Regions from separate parts of the Homo sapiens genome. Here region 2 is linked to region 1. The links are contacts of gene promoters, found by promoter capture Hi-C in human tissues and cell types (Jung and others, 2019). All regions are on one chromosome and are shown on one strand. The core of a region is centred on a gene start or on the middle of the fragment in contact, and the rest is flanking DNA. Distances in the headings are between cores, read along the strand shown.

Region 1 (2,906 bases), core at 74-2,573:
ATGCCGGGGTCTCTCTGCTTGTAGGTCCGGATGTGTTTCACCACGGTGGGGGTAGTGACCCGGGGCTTGCTGCCCCCGATGGCTCCTGGCAAGATCGAGCCCGTCTCGTTGTATCGCGCCAGGATCTTGCTGACGCAGCCGTGCGAGACCCGTAGCTGGCGGCTGATGTCACACGGTCGGATGCCCAGTTGGGCCAGTTCCACGATGCGAAGCCGGATGGCGTTGGGCAGCGGCCTCCCGTTCACGAACACTCCTCCCAGCTGGTTCACCTCCCCGAAGGCTGGCTCTGCAAAATGAACACACAGCGCGCAGGGACGCGCACCCGCTGCTTGGGACAGCTGCCTGCCACTGGGCCTCCCTACGCATCCGGGGACTGGGCGAACGCACCCGTCCCCTACTAACTACTGGGGCTGTCCCCAAACCATATGGTCCCTGAACATAGCCGAACGGCCCCAAACCGTCACTGTCCAATCGGACCCCCTCCCTCATTCCTGCCGTGCCGGAGGCCCCTACGGCCAAGTAAAGTGGTGAGATGCCGGGCCTCTCCGAGCGTTCAAAAGTCTCCCGAAGCAGGGGGAGAAATCGGTCTTGACGCCTGAACGTGCTCCTTCTCGCCTGCTCCTCACTAAAGTCCTTGAGCCGCTCCCTCTCTCCACCCATCCCATCCCCAGCGTTCCTTCTGGAGACCCGGCCAGTTAAACAAAGTCTAGGGGAAGCTAGAGGGTGTTTTATTTGTTGTTGTTTGTTTTCTTTTCTTTTCTTTTCCTGTTTTGTTTGCATGTGTGCGCGCGTGTGAAACAAAACTTGGTTTGCTACTCGGGCTGAGGGGCTCGCTGATGCCACAGCTCCCTTCTCTTAAAATCAGAAAATGGCATCAACAGCCACCCAGTAGCCAGCGTTCACATTGAACTGCTGTGCGCCGCTGACCCTTAGCGTGTTCCTACAACTTGTAGGAACACGAGCAAAGTCAATAGAGAATGTGAGCGCCTAGTGGCGCGCGCCCTCGCGCTCCCTCCCTCCCTCCCTCCCTTGCCCGCTCGCTCCCTCCCTCCCTTCCCGGCTCTGACAGAGTCCCCCGCCGCCACTCACCCATTGCTCCGAGCAGTACACCAACCCGGCCCCAGTTCCGCACTCCCAGACAGAAACTTTCCGCACCGCCTCAGTGGCCCGGCCTGTTGCTATCCCGGCCGACCGCCGGCGCCTCCGCTTCTTCCCAGGAGGAGGAGGCGAGAGGGCAAAAGGAAGAAGTAAAAGGAAGTCTGTGCCCCGATGAAAGAGGCTTGAGTTCTGCATTTCAATCTAAGCAGCAACGTGGGCTGGGCTGAGCAGGGCAGGGCGGCTCCGTCTATCACTCACTGGGGACACGCCCTAAAAGGGGCGGGTCCGAGGGCAAGCTGCATGGTGATTGGTGCGGGTCGGTGAGCGACAGCGCAGTCCAGGAAACTCCTTCCGCTGTCTCTTTCAGGCTAGCTCCCCACCTGGGTGACTAAATACAATGAAAATGGGTGTTTGACATCTTCCCAGAAGCGGCACAAAAAGACAGCAAAATCAGGCTGGTAAAATGCTGAATAAACAAATGAAAGCGTTTGGTCTGAATGTGAATGACTCGAAGGGAGAAGGGGCCCGAGGAGACCTCCTCCGGGGAACGATGGACATCTCAGAATTGAAGTTAAGGCTATAGGTGGGAGGCGGGCGCCACCGTGCACAGGGGTGAGGGAGTTGTCTTAGCAAAATCTGTCATGCGGGCCTCTGGGGACTGTCAGGAGAGGATCTGTGTCACCTGCCGATTCTACCTCACTTCAGTCCATGCCAGGTGGCGAGAGCGCAGGTGTGAGAAGATAGGCCGGCCAAAGAAACCAGGAGGTTGCGGGGAGCCCGAGCCACAGGTGGGGGCCACTGTTAAGGCCAGGGAGGTTCCTCCTACCGCCAGCTTCCTGCGGCGACCCCCCAGTCCAGGTGGACCGGCCAACCACTAGCCACACAGGCTCGAGGCACGGGCCACGCCGTGTGCGGGGAACTGAACCACAGGCGGCTAACGCTAGCGCACAGCCCCAAGTCGACCAATTGCCAGTGCGTGGGGCACTCACTACGGAGCCCAAGGCTCTGCCACATTCAGCCACTGTCCTGGGCCCCTGGCCCTCGGTGGCAGCGTTTGTGAGGGTTCTCCAAACCAGCGAGCCCTCTCGAAAGAGTTTTGTTTAAATATGAAAGAGACTTAGTCCCAAGACAGTGGACACCGACGCTGCACATGGATGTAATTCCCTCGTCTTCCATTAAGCTCCAGAGGCCCTGTCGTTCTGCCTACTTCTGAATTTTCACTTTTATTCACTGTAAGTCTAATCTAAAGTGTACCGTATGCTTTTTTGCAGCCAAAGTTATTAATATTTGCAGTTAGGGTTGTGGAGAATGTGAATCAAAATAATAAACAAGAAGAGAAATATTTTCGTGAATTTGGGAGTTTGTACTGCTTGGGGTCGTGAACTCTGTTACTGCTACTTGACAATCCAGAAGGCTCCTTGTGCACACAGGATTCAGGCTGCTTCCCCAACAGTCCCCAGGGATGTGTGTGGCTGCGGTCTACACCCAGAGAAGCTGACTGGTCCCAGATCTCAGGTCAGTAAGTTGCAAGAACCCAGGAAAAAACTATGATCAGCCATGCTTCTGCAAAGGAACAGATCTCCAGATTCCCACTTCTATGGTTAGGATGCACTCTAAATTCAAAATTACCTAACAGAATGGAGGATGTGAAAGGTAAAGATGAACTAAAACACCACTCTTTAGAATCGGAATCTTGGGGGAAATCCCACAACTAGACATACTTGAACTTGTCCCTTTTTGTTGGTTGGTTTCAAATGTTTAAAATCTTCTTGAAGTTTGACTTGATAGCAATTTCAGCCTGGTCTGAC
Region 2 (2,771 bases), core at 211-2,710, 52 kb before region 1:
CCAGGAAAGTTAGAGTGCAATTTGGCCCACAATTGGTAACTAAATATGAAAATTGGAGTGAATCTAAATAATACAAGGAAACTGAGCTAGTGGGTGACCTGCTGGATTAGATAGTATTGGAATCATTTGGCTGATGATGCTAATCAGTTACCATTTTGCTTTTAAATGGAAGCCCCATAATCAAATAAGTTTAGTAAAATTCCATGTGTTTACAGATATCTAGTCAAAATTATTCTATATTTTCCTATTTAAGCATCCTAGTGGAAGTCATGTTTTGCCTTTCTAATTAAATATTTGCTTACATATGTGTGAAACAATGTCCCTGAATGAAGAAAGAAAACACACTATCATACTATTACTTCTTATTTTTATAGGCAATTGAGTTCTGGTTTTCTTTATCCCAAGGCCTCCATTTGCCAGAAAAATATATTTGTACTATTATGCATCTGTTACTTATATCAGTTGGATTGTCAAACTCTGAAACTCTTATTACCTATGTACAATAAGAATGAGTGTGTAAAGAACAACATTGGATTAGATGCAGAATTCTGCTTAAGCCATTTATCAGCAGCATTTTATCTTAGGCATGTTGCCTAACAATCTTTGGTTTCCTCACCTGAAAAATGAGATATACCAGCTGCCCACATTACAAGGTTGCTGAGAGAAGCAATCAGATATGTTAGGATGGCAGAACCACCAAGAGTGTAAAAGTACAGATTTGGAGTCCAAGGAACCTCAGTTGGAACTCTGTTGTTACCACTTACTCTGTAATCTTGGGTGAGTAACTTAACTTCTAACTCTTAGTTTCCTTATCTGCCAAATAGGGATCATGATAAGACATATCTCACACAATTACTGAGAGGATTAAATGACACCAAAAAGTACTGAGCACGTATGATAATGGCTAAAGGTGTTGAGCACTTCCTGTGTTCCAGCTACCTGATCACGTATACAAATGTGTTTTCTAGGCTGGAAAGCCATATAGAGGGGGAAGCCCAATTCATGTGCTTTTCCATTGCCAGCCTTTCTTCCCGTATGGCCTTACTTCTACAGCCCACAGACTTGCCATATGCAGAGATCTTAGCCAGGGTACTCACCTTGAGGGATAAGGAAGAGGCCAATTTATAGGATTTACTGCTCCAGAGAGGAAAGCTCCTGGGTGAGGCACTGTACCTGGAACAAGATCTCTACCCCAAGCATTGAATTTGGTTGGGTCTCAGAGGAAGCAGACCTGTTATCTTGCATTCTGCATGCATTTCTGGTGGACTTTATCACAAAGGTCTGGGACTCTGGGAAAAGGAAAGGACAGCCAGAAGGAATGAAGAAAAAAAGAAGCTTTCTCTCCCTCAAATCAGATTCCAGCTTTTGGTTGCCACTGCCTTCAACTAACAAAGAAATCACCTGTCATTTTATTGTTATAACTATTTTTATGATTGTCAGCATAATTGCCATTATCGTTAACACCTAAATGTATAGTGAATGCTTAGAATGGACTAAGTTGTTTACAGTGGACTAAGTTCATTGACTTCTTTCAACAATCTCAACAATCCTGTGAGGAAGATTTTTTTTTCTTTTTTTGTTTTGAGATAGGGTCTTGCTTTCACTCTGTCATCCAGGCTGGAGCCTGTCACTATGCAGTGACAGGATAACAGTTCACTGCAGCCTCACCTTCCAGGCCTCAAGTGATCCTCCTGCGTCAGCCTCCTTAGTCAGCCTCCTGAGTAACTGGGATCACAGGCTTGCCACAGCACCTGGCTAATTTTTTAATTTTTTGTAGAGACTGGGTCTTACTATGTTGTTCAGGCTGGTCTTGAACTCCTGGGCTCAAGCACTCCTCCTGCCTCCGCCTCCCAAAATGCTGAGATTACAGGTTTGAGCCACTGCAGAAGCCACTGACCTCCGGAAGATTCTATCATTATCCTTATTTAGAAATTTAGAAATTAATAAAGTGAGAATCAATCAGAGAGGATAAAATACTTGCCAAAGTAGCAAGTGGTATTGCTGAGACTCAAACTTGGAACTGTCTAGCTCTGAGCTCCTATTTCCAATTACTATGCTACTCTCCAATTAATTACTGACAACTAGAGTCCGAACTCAACAAAGCACTTGAGTTTAAAATGATGCATTACATTTGCTTATACACACACAGCACCCAAGCCAGTGAAAATCAGGAAACAGACAATTAGCAAATGCCACTTGAATATTTGTCAGCTCTCACCGAGATCTAGGAGAAATCTCTTTTCAAGATGATGAGAAAGATGCTATCCAAATTAATCCTTAGTTTAGTCATCCTAATTCTAATGACTTAGCAAACTAAGATTTTTAAACAATAGAAACATCTTTATACCCATGTTTTTAGGGAAAGCCATTGTCATTTGCACTTTATTTTAGAGCCGTTGGTTTCTCTGCTGCTCTAAAACTTAGATGGCCTCGGAGCTCCTCCGCCCTCATGCCCTCAAGACCTCAGAGGAGTGAGGATGGAGAAAAGGTTTAGGTTGGGTGCAGGGAGAACCTGTGTTAGTCAGGCAGCCTCACCTCTGTCCTGTTCCTCCCACCCCCAGGAAAGCTGCCCTCTCCTTCCCCCACCTCTAGACTGCCTTCCTTGAAGCAAGATAGCAGTACTTGGGCAGTTTACTCAGCACTTCCAGGGTCTTTCCAACAAAAATGAGTTTCTGCTCAACTTGTCCTATCTCTTTTGAAAACCAAAAAATAATGATTTGGGGGTGAAAGTCAATGTGCTGAAACACAAAAAAATCTCATGTTGTCAAACA

Evidence for each region. Contacts are between HindIII fragments. The study calls those that stand out against the background at their distance.
Region 2: a contact is called between a fragment that was not itself captured here and the fragment with the promoter of PAX9 in region 1, in 2 of the 25 tissues and cell types used here (mesendoderm cells and thymus).

What each region holds. Positions count from the first base shown.
Region 1 is chr14:36,660,277-36,663,182 of GRCh38, reverse strand. It overlaps PAX9 (paired box 9), which reads right to left and starts at 1,323. Exons shown (of 4, transcript NM_001372076.1): 1 at 1,090-1,323; 2 at 1-286. The coding sequence starts at 1,093. RefSeq lists enhancers at 1-343, 344-855, a cis regulatory region at 1,620-2,132 and a promoter at 1,392-2,589. The HindIII fragment of the contact is 9,466 bases long and covers 1,239-2,906 here.
Region 2 is chr14:36,712,823-36,715,593 of GRCh38, reverse strand. All of the region lies in intron 6 of SLC25A21 (solute carrier family 25 member 21), which reads left to right. Among named protein-coding and RNA genes, the nearest start is that of PAX9, 52 kb to the right of the region's middle. The HindIII fragment of the contact is 4,626 bases long and covers 1-2,771 here.